3 separate regions of the Homo sapiens genome follow, and regions 2 and 3 are each linked to region 1. The links are contacts of gene promoters, found by promoter capture Hi-C in blood cells and fetal thymus (Javierre and others, 2016). All regions are on one chromosome and are shown on one strand. The core of a region is centred on a gene start or on the middle of the fragment in contact, and the rest is flanking DNA. Distances in the headings are between cores, read along the strand shown.

Region 1 (3,461 bases), core at 637-3,136:
AGTCTGATCTGTACCCCAGACTCCACGGAAGCCCACTGGTGGTGGTGGAGGGGGTGGTAGTTTGTGTCTTCACTGCTGGGTGGCTCTTTGAGTCTCTTATCTCTCAGGACCATGTAACCTACTGGATCTACTCACTGCATCCTGGCCCCATTTCAGTCTTCGTTTATTAAATACAGTTCTGCTATCCCTAACTCCCGCGCAGGGGAAGAAAGTACTTACTCTGAACCCAACATATAAGGGCGAACCCAACATATAAGAGACATTTCTTAGTGGGGAGAACCGGTCATCTTCACCTTGCCTGGAATAATTCAGCCGGGCGAGACATTTTCCATTTCTACCTTGGGGCAGCTCAATTTTTATACCTGAGGCCAACTTCTACGCCATTCCCCCCCACCCCACCACCCAAAATCCCTTCAACCTTTCATATCTTAAACTCCTTTCCTTTCAGGTCGGGCAGATTAGGCAGCAGGCTGGGAGCTTCAGCAGGAGAAGTGACCTTGCCTGCAGCCTCCCAGATGTCTCAGTCCCAGCTAAGCATCGGTACCCCGGAGGGCCCTGCCAGTGCAATGCTCTGTTAAATCTTTTTCCGTTTAGTAAAAATCTCTTCTGTCTCCTCTCATCATTCACTATCTTTGAGAGCCTTTTCTTCTTTAGTCTCATAATTTTCCATCCCTTTCTTATTTTCCTACATTTTCTTTCTTTCTGCTTTGTAGAGATGGGATCTCACTATATTGCCCAAGGCTAGTCTCAAACTCCAGGCCTCATGTGATCCTCCTGCCTTGGTTTCCCAAATGCTGGGGTTATAGGTGTGACCCACCACACCTGGCCCCTTATTTTTAGTTAAATTTATCTTGGTAAAAAATGCCTTTCTTGCTGCGCGCAGTGGCTCATGCCTGTAATCTCAGCACCTTGGGAGGCCGAGGCCGGCGGATCGCCTGAGGTCGGGAGTCGAGACCAGCCTGACCAACATAGAGAAACCCCGTCTCTACTAAAAATACAAAATTAGCCGGGCCCGGTGGTTCATGCCTGTAATCTCAGCTACTCAGGAGGCTGAGGCAGGAGAATCGCTTGAACCCGGGAGGCGGAGGCTGTGGTGAGCTGCGGTCGCTCCATTGCACTCCAGCCTGGGCAACAAGAGTAAAACTCAATCAGAAAAAAAAGAAAAGCCTTTCTCCCTGCAAATAATGCATATACAACACTCAATATTTTAGTATGTCCTGCACTCACGATTTTAACCCTAATAGGAAGGACAACTGGAATTCTTTCTCCTTAGCATCCACGAACCCCATATGTTATAGGACAAACAGATGGCCAGACCCTGGCCTGTGCCTCCAAACACAGACCTTTTCAAGGTCTAATGCTTCCAGAGAAGTCTTCACACTGGCTCTGAGACCCACACTTGTAATCCATACAACCAAGCAGCCCGATCCTCTAAACACTCAACCATCTCGTCCTCAGTGGCATATGGTTACCTAAAATAAACCTGAGAAGCAAACACAACTTCTCCGGGTGACTTTCCTATGATAAGGTGAACAGAACTGTATGACATTCAAAGAGAACTGATGAAGCGGCAGCAGTGCAGGCTAGAGACGAAATGAAAAGGCCTTAAGATAGCTTGGTGACTTAGGAGAAAATAGAACAAGGAGATTACCATTAATATTTGCCTTTCTGAGTGTATCCCAAACAAGCAAAAATAACCAGTAATTATATCATTCTTACCTTCTGTGTCCCCATCGCTGTAATCTAATTCAAGTCTTCAAGAAAGATCTAGGGGTGATTCCAGAAACAGCTTTTTCAGCCAACAAAACCTTCAAAATGTCCTTCTCAGCAGCAAGTTTTCTCCACGTCCTCAGGAAGGATCCAAAGTCTTACCATTACAGCATCTCTGGGTCTCGCTGGGATCATGACTATTTATAATCTCCGCAAAGGGTGGAGCCTGAAAGGGCGACAAGCCCCCAGCCCCACCCCACCCCACCCCACCCCCCTGAAGCAATCTTGTGATCTCTCGGAATTCTGTGTTATCAGAACTACCCCCGCCCCCGCCCCACAGACAATAACGCCCTCCCTCCCCCCTCTCTTAAAACCACATCCTTCCACTCTCTCCACCCTGGGTTTTTTTTTTTTTTTTTTTTTCAAAAGCTCATCCTTACTCCTTCCCTCTTCTAATAGCAGCTAGAGCCTCTTAGTTTCACAGACAAAATACTACCAGAAAAGCCTGGAGGGAGGGCAAATACACTATTTTATGCTCTCGCATCTGCTTGGGATTAAAACAATCTACAGAGAGATTAGAATAAATCTATCCATACAAAACGAAGTCAAGTGGGTGCTACTATCAGAGATTTAAGGTTGTTAGAAAGAGTGTTAGTAAGAATTCTTGATCCTATGAATTTATAGGCTGGGTCTACAATCTTTTTTTTTTCTTTTTTTTTTGAGACGGAGTACACAATCTTAAAGGGGAGGGAAAGACAGCCTGAGAGAAGAAAATCAGGGAAATAATTTTGCCAGTGTTCCTTTCTTCGCATAATCTCACCTGGAGGGAAGAAAATCTGAATTTCTAGGAGCCAGACCAACTATCAGGGCAGTAGGAATAAGAGGTTCAACTGTTTATGGAATACAATCCATATCCTTTTTTTTTTTTTTTTTTTTTTTTTGATATGGAGTCTCTCTCTGTCGCCCAGGCTGGAGTGCAGTGGTGCGATCTCGGCTCACTGCAACCTCCGCCTCCCGGGTTCAAGCAATTCTCCTGCCTCAGCCTCCCGAGTAGCTGGGACTATAGGCGCCCGCCACCACGCCCCGCTAATTTTTGTATTTTTAGTAAAGACGGGGTTTCACCATATTGGCCAGGCTGGTCTCAAACTCCTGACCTTGTGATCTGCCCGCCTTGGCCTCCCAAAGTGCTGGGATTACAAGTGTGAGCCACCGCGCCGAGCCCTATATTTAATAAGGCATTTGCCATATCACCCATTCTGAATTCTGCATCACTTTCTGCTAGTCTCAAGCTTATAGCATCTAGAAATGCAATAAATACCGAATTCAATTAAGCAGGTATTTGCCGAATACACGCTATGTATCAGGTACTCTCCAAGAAGCTGGTGATTCTTCAGTGAATAATAGAAAAAAAGGCCGGGCGCGGTGGCTCACGCCTGTAATCCCAGCACTTTGGGAGGCCGAGGTGGGCGGATCACGAGGTCAGGAGATCAAGACCATCCTGGCTAACACGGTGAAACCATTCTCTACTAAAAATACAAAAAAAAAAAAAAAAAAAAAAAAAATTAGCCGGGCATGGTGGCGGGCGCCTGCAGTCCCAGCTACTCGGGAGGCTGAGACAGGAGAATGGCGTGAACGCGGCAGGCGGAGCTTGCAGTGAGCCAAGACAGCGCCACTGCACTCCAGCCTGGGCGACAGAGCAAGAATCCGTCTCAAAAAAAAAAAAAAAAAAGAATAATAGGACAAAAGAGTTC
Region 2 (3,461 bases), core at 606-3,105, 240 kb before region 1:
TCCAGCCTGGGTGACACAGCAAGACCTGTCTCAAGGGGAAAAAACAAAAAGAGGAAGAACAAGAGGAAGAAGAAGAAAAGCCTGAAGTACTTGACCAGGCAAATTCTGAGGGAGTACTTCAGGCAGCCTGGATACAGCACGTGTGAGGATGAGACAAGAGTGCATGCTCTAGAAGGAATAGACTACTATGAGCTTGGAGTTGAGTGTGCAAGGAGAGGGTGTAAAAGGTGAGACTGGGGAAGTAAGCAGCAGGGTCAGAACAGGCAGGGCATGGTGGGTCAACTCTTGCAGAATTTTGCAGACGAGAATTTTACGTGGAGGAGCAGTACGACTCAATACGCATTTTTAAAAGGTAATTCTGGGCTGGGTGCGGTGGCTCAGGCCTGTAATCCCAGCAGTTTGGGAGGCTGAGGCAGGCGGATCACCTGAAGTCAGGAGTTCAAGACCAGCCTGGCCAACATATAGTGAAACCCTGTCTCTACTAAAAAATTAAAAAATTAAAAAATTAGCTGGGCTTGGTGACACACGCCTGTAATCCCAGCTACTTGGGAAGCTGAGGCAGAAGAATCACTTGAACCCAGGAAGCGGAGGTTGCAGTGAGCTGAGAAAGTGCCACTCTACTCCAGCCTGGGGGACAGAGCGAGACTCTCAAAAAAAAAAAAAAAAAAAAAAGGCAAACTTTATCTTGTATTCTCAAGGCCATACACAGTTCCTGGCTCACCATAGGTATCCAATAAGTGCTTCTTGGACAAATAAATATTCAAATCTTCTCTCCAGTTGCTGTAAAACTAACCAAGGCTCTAAATTCTGCATCTGAAACACCCGGGAGGTTGTATAGACATGCAGATTCTCAACACCCATTTCAGACTTTGAATAAGAATTGGGTGGGGAGAACTAGGGGCAGGAATGGGGTTGGAGGATCTACTGTTAATGGAAGACCTAAGTTATTTGGTGGGTGGTCAGTTTGGGAAAGTACTGGATCCCACTCACTGAGATCCTTTTAAAAGGATATGACAGTTGTATATATTATTGCTCTCTATTCACAAATCTAGAATAACCTTTGCCACCCAACAAGAGTAGCCAGGAGGTACAAATAAGGGAAGCAGGACTCCTGGGCAAACCAACCTCAAAATTTTCATACCCTGCTTGCCACATGGAAGACGGCAGGATGTGTATATATGGGCTGCAGGGTGGGAGACTGAGCTCTGATTCCTCCCTCACCTCTTTCATCTCAACTGAAGCACAAAGCAGTTGATTCAGAAAACAAAAACCTATTTCAAATCCTGACTTTGTTCTCACACACTAGCTGTATGATCTTGAATAGATTACAGGTTACCTACTGTCTGAGCCTAATTTCCTTACTGTTAGGAACTTGATAAGAATATCTAACTTCCTCTCAGGATCGTGGCTGGAATTAAATGAGACAAAATATGAAAAATACCAGCACAAGGCCATCAGTAATTGTCATTTCCTATTGTCCTTTCCTTTCTTCACACCACCCAGTTCCAGATGTTTTTCTGGATAACACTCTATTTCCTTACCTTGGTCTGGGAGAAAGCGAAGTACATTCCCGCGGACGCCCAGCTCCTTTACGTAGCATAAGTCTCGGGAGACCCCAGTGGTCGCTGCTGCCTCGCGATCCTGGAAAATTTTCTTCAAGATATAAGGCACAGGTTGGAACTTCTGGGGTGAAGGCGCCTTATCTAAGCCCAGAAATTGGAGAAAGACATATTCTTGAAATTGGACTGCCTGGCCCAAAGCCAGAATTAACAGGAAGCTGAAAGCCAAATCTGGCAAGAAACGAAGCATGGCCTCTGGAGTGGCTGTCAGACCGGGGAGAGCTCCACTGCCAGACTGCCCAACAATTCAGAGGCTGCTAATTTATCTGATGTAAGATAATCAAGTGTGAATTGCTCTCTTCCCAGCTCCTCAAAGGCCATTGGATGTGAAGAGGGAATTTTTTTTTCTCTTCTCTTGCTCTACTCTTCCAGGAAAAAGTTCACAGAACAAAGATTACCAATGCATGGACATAAATTCTACAACAATGTGAGGTTGTCAGCAGTAGACAGAGTGAAAAGGAGACATGCATTTATTCATTTAACAAACAGTTACTAAGCATCTATTATGTGCACGGTGCTGAGATAGGTGCTAGGAATAGAGCAGTGAATAATTCATAGACTTGTAATTAATCATCTACATAGACCAAGCTTGTCCAACCTGCGGCCGGAGGGTCACATGAGGCTCACGATGGCTTTGAATGCAGCCCCACACAGATTCATAAACTTCCGTAAAACATTATGAAACTTTCTTGTGATTTTTTTAAGCTCATCAGCTATCATTAGTGTTAGTATATTTTACGTGTGGCCCAAAACAATTCTTCTTCTTCCAATGTGACCCAGGGAAGCCAAAAGATTGGACACCCCTGGATTAGACAAATACTCAAGTAGATTTCATTATTTTATTTTTATTTTTATTTTTATTTATGTATTTATTTATTTTTGAGACAGGGTCTCGCTCTGTTGCCCAGGCTGGAGTGCAGTGGCCTGATCTTGGCTCACTGCAAGCCTCGACCCCCTGAGCTCAAGAGATCATCCCACCTCAGCCTCTGGAGTAGTTGAGACTACAGGCATAGGGCACCACTTCCAGCTAATTGTTTTATTTTTTACAGAGATGGGGCCTTGCCATGTTGTCCAGACTGGTCTTGAACTCCTGGTCTCAAGCAGTCTTCCCACCTCGGCCTCCCAAAGTGCTGGGATTGTAGGCATGAGCCACTACACCCAGCCGCCAGCCTTGTTTCTCACCACCCACCATCCTTAGTGTGGATGCTCTAATTACATTGACCTATTTGTAGCTCTGTGAGCTCATTTCATCTCAGAGCCTTTACACAGACCAAGTTCAAAGGTCACCTCTACTTCCACAGTTTCGACTCACCAAAATAGATTGAGATACTTCTTTCTCCCACTGAGCCATACTTGGGCATCCATTACAGTTTTTTTGTTTTTTTGTTTTTTTTGAGACGGAGTTTCGCTCTTGTTGCCCTGGCTGCAGTGCAATGGCACGATCTCAGCTCACCACAACCTCTGCCTCCCAGGTTCAAGCAATTCTCCTGCCTCAGCCTCCCTAGTAGCTGGGATTACAGGCATGCGCTACCATGCCCGGCTACTTTTGTATTTTTAGTAGAGACGGGGTTTCTCCATGTCGGTCAGGCTGGTCTCAAACTCCTGACCTCAGGTAATCCACCCACCTCGGCCTCCCAAAGTGTTGGGATTATAGGTGTGAGCCACTGCACCCGGCCCTCCATTACAGTTTCTGCAGTGCATTTTACTGTGTTTGCCTCCTTCCTTTTCAGACAACTCACACCTTGAGGATCAGAACTGTGTCTCTTTGCCTAAGTATCTTCAGTGTGTCTTTTTCCCCAAAGTATCTCCACTGGTGAAGAAAGTGTCCGGCAGGTAGCAGAC
Region 3 (3,461 bases), core at 623-3,122, 190 kb after region 1:
AAAGAAGGCATCTATGTGGTGGGATAGTCAGGTGCAGTGAGTTGGAGTGCAAGCAGGGTGAGGAGGGCATCCATGTATGAGGTTACCTTCTATAGGGAGTCAGAGTCGCAAATGGCTGAGCAGAGTACTCTAGGGCCAGCCTGGTATGTATGTCAGCATGTGGGAGAGGTGAGGAGGGCACCCATGCCTAGTGTTGGCCCAGTTGGGGTTGGGACTCAGCACTTAAGCAGGATGAGGAGAGAGAGCATCCTTGCAGAGGGTAGACCTGGTGTGGTTTCAGAGACCAAGCATGATAAGGAGGGTGTCCATGTGGTGGGGTAGCCCAGTGAGGGAACTCAGATCCTAAGTAGGGTAAGATGGACATTATTGCTGGGGGATGGAGGACCTGCATGGAGTGTCAGAGCCCAAGCAGGATGAAGAAAGCTTCTATGCAGAGGGAGGACTTGGTGTGGGTTTCAGAAACTTAGCAGGATAAGGAGGTGGTCCATGTGGTAGGATAGCCCGGTGAGGAAATCAGACCCCTCCAGGGTGAGGAGGGCTTCCACCCATAGGGTGACCTTGTGTGGAGCATTAGAACCTAAGGGGGTCTAAGTGGTGACTAGGGGACCAGCATCAGGAATCAGAGTGCAAGCAGAGTGAGGAGGGCTTTCCTGCAGAGGAATGGCCTAGCACAGGGAGTCAGAGCCTTGGCAGGGTGAGGGGGATGTTTGTTGGGGGATGTTCATGGGGGTGGGGAGTGGGCTGGCCCTTTGCCGGCACTCTCAGAGTGAGGAGGGAGGGCATCCGCGCAGGGGATGGTGGCTTGGACTGGGGAGTCAGAGCCCAACTAGGAAGAGAGGGACATCTTAGCAGGTGGGAGATTGACGACATCCAGGAGATTGATCAAATAAGGAATAAGTGAAAGACAATGAAAGCAGGTTTCTTAGTGTCACAGAAAGGAGTTAGGAATGTGGGAAGGGAGAAAACTAGAATGAAACTTGTGGTGTTAGATTGGAATTAGAGGAATTAGTGTGAACTCATGGTGTTCAATATATTTAGATATAGAAATAATATAGAAATATAGACGTGTGTGTTTGTGTGTGTGTGCATGCATGTATGCATGTGTGTTATGCAGGAGAAGGAATCAGCTGGGGGAGATTAAAAGGAGGATCATTTGCGGAGAGTTGAGGGCAGAGAATCCAGGTGTGAGCTGGGAGCATGTCTATGGAGAGATTCCACATGAAGGATTTAATATTTGGAGTGTTTTCTTCTAGGCCTTTGGAAAAAGTCATATTTAGTACTTTGTTTAAGTTTATCCCCTTCTATACTGTGATTCTATATAATTCTCCTAACTGTTAAAAAATAGTCATATATATTGGAGGTGATGTGGCGATTAAAAGGTTAGGGAAGCATGGAATAAAGGCTGGCCTTCCCTCTCCTCCAACATCCAGTAAAGGGAGCTGCTTTCTGGAGATTCTAGCAAGATGAATGCAGACTTTTGATAGAGTTAGTTACCAACAAGGAAACACAGAGAGCATGGAGGAACAGCTTCAGAAGACATGGGGTTTAAACTTTGCCATCCCCACCATGCTACAGGAAACTAATTCGTGAAGGTGGGGAGGCTGATATGTGAGTTTTGTGTCAATGATACTCTTAGAATGTGGTACTAACAAGTTGCCTGATCAGTCAAAATTGATGAGATGAATGCAACATAAGTCTATGTTCAGGATGTTTGGTCAAAAGTAATTACATTTGTGTGTGGAAGCACAGAAATTGTATTTTTTACTGGTGAAAAACGCAGTTCTCCAGAAAGACTCTAAGTGCTTGGTTCTTCTTTTATTTTTCTTCCTCTTTCCGCAACCCTTTGAGTTCCCACTTTTATTGCATTTGCTTGCATTTGTTTCAAGGCTGTGATTCTCACTATACTGGTCCTGAGGAAAGGGCTTCTGTGAACTGCGGTTTTTAGTTTTTATTGTGGTTCTTAGTTCTCATGAGACCCCTCTTGAGGATATGTGCCTATCTGGTGCCTCTGCTCTCCACTAGTTGAGTGAAAGGAAGGAGGTAATTTACCACCATGTTTGGTTCCTGTTTATAAGATGTTTTAAGAAAGATCTGAAACAGATTTTCTGAAGAAAGCAGAAGCTCTCTTCCCATTATGACTTCGGAAATCACTTATGCTGAAGTGAGGTTCAAAAATGAATTCAAGTCCTCAGGCATCAACACAGCCTCTTCTGCAGGTAAAGATCATTTTCTAGGGGTCAGAGTGAATGACGAGGTGAAGGATGAGGAGAGGGTTTATGAATAAGGCATAGGTGTTTTCAGTTGCTGGTTGTCTGATTGAGTATGTCTGGGAAACACAAGAGTCCCAGAAGATTGAGTGGCCTGCAGATACGCATTACGGGGTGTACATTTGTATTGTGGAGAAGAAAAGATTTTGTGCCACTCTCTTCAGCCTCCACTCTGCTTACTGAAACAGAGGTGAGAGAAATCCACTCCAGTTCTGAGCTAAGGCGAGTGCTCTGATGCCCCTGTGTTTTCTGAGGCTGAGTGGGGCTGGGGTTAAGAGATTGAGTACAGCTTCTGAAACCATCAATCCAGATGCAGGGGGTCCTGATGAATTTGTGAGATTTGTTTTTTGATCAGTTAGAGGGAAAGAGTTTGGGTGGACAGTGGTGAGGGTATATTTGTTGGTAATGGATGGAAATGTAACAAAAGGCCTTTGCAAATGAAAGACTAGAAAGTCTACAAAGAAAGTCTCTTAAATCTCCAGGAAACTTTTTCTGAAATCAGAGAACCTATTGCGTGTTGCATCTCTGAGACAGACTCTGTTACGTTTGGGAGTAGATGCAAGGTGATTTGGGTGTCATGTGTGATATCTCAAGTATAGAGCAAAAGAGAGAAAAGAATGTATATAGAGTACAAGAAACTATGGGGGAAGGGGTCAGGACTATAGTTACGCTTTCTAAAATACCTCTGTGAAGGTGTGGAGAGCACTTAGGGAAATTTTTTCTCCTTAAAAACTTTATATAATTTCTTTATTACACAAGTATTAATGTTCATTGTAGAAAAAATTAACCAGAGGTACACAGATATTTGAATTATAATTACTCTTATCATCTAGAGAAAATCATAATTTGCAATTTAGTGAATATCCTTCCACATACAAATACATATAATGTGCATATGTATTTTACTAAAAATGTAATCATATTATATAATACTGAATTTTTTTCCCCCATCATTTGACAAAATATCATAACTCGAAGAAAGTGATTCCTAACCATGAGATGGTAACTAAAAAGACTGACTTTATTCTAAACATGTGATGAGGAATGATTATAAAGATTTATTTGCTATAGCATTATTTAAAGTTGGAAACCATTATTTAAATATATGATGAAATACTATGCAACCATAATAAGGAGTGTTAAAGAAGAAAATATAATGGTATGAAAAATGTTCATGATATAGTGTAAAGGAAA

Evidence for each region. Contacts are between HindIII fragments. The CHiCAGO score rates a contact against its expected background, and 5 or more counts as called.
Region 2: a contact is called between the fragment with the promoter of GDF3 here and the fragment with the promoter of SLC2A3 in region 1, in 7 of 17 cell types (erythroblasts, M2 macrophages, M1 macrophages and 4 more). The highest score is 13.3, in erythroblasts.
Region 3: the fragment with the promoter of CLEC4A here is called in contact with the fragment with the promoter of SLC2A3 in region 1 in 9 of 17 cell types (neutrophils, naive B cells, total B cells and 6 more); the score reaches 12.7 in neutrophils.

Annotation. Positions count from the first base shown.
Region 1 is chr12:7,934,301-7,937,761 of GRCh38, forward strand. It overlaps SLC2A3 (solute carrier family 2 member 3), which reads right to left and starts at 1,887. Exons shown (of 10, transcript NM_006931.3): 1 at 1,720-1,887. The coding sequence starts at 1,734. RefSeq lists an enhancer at 1-948 and a silencer at 2,016-2,065. The HindIII fragment of the contact is 4,746 bases long and covers 1-2,997 here.
Region 2 is chr12:7,693,920-7,697,380 of GRCh38, forward strand. It overlaps GDF3 (growth differentiation factor 3), which reads right to left and starts at 1,856. Exons shown (of 2, transcript NM_020634.3): 1 at 1,542-1,856. The coding sequence starts at 1,809. RefSeq lists an enhancer at 1-337. The HindIII fragment of the contact is 5,455 bases long and covers 1-2,205 here.
Region 3 is chr12:8,121,745-8,125,205 of GRCh38, forward strand. CLEC4A (C-type lectin domain family 4 member A) reads left to right here and starts at 1,873. Exons shown (of 6, transcript NM_016184.4): 1 at 1,873-2,216. The coding sequence starts at 2,135. RefSeq lists an enhancer at 1,743-1,792. The HindIII fragment of the contact is 7,899 bases long and covers 422-3,461 here.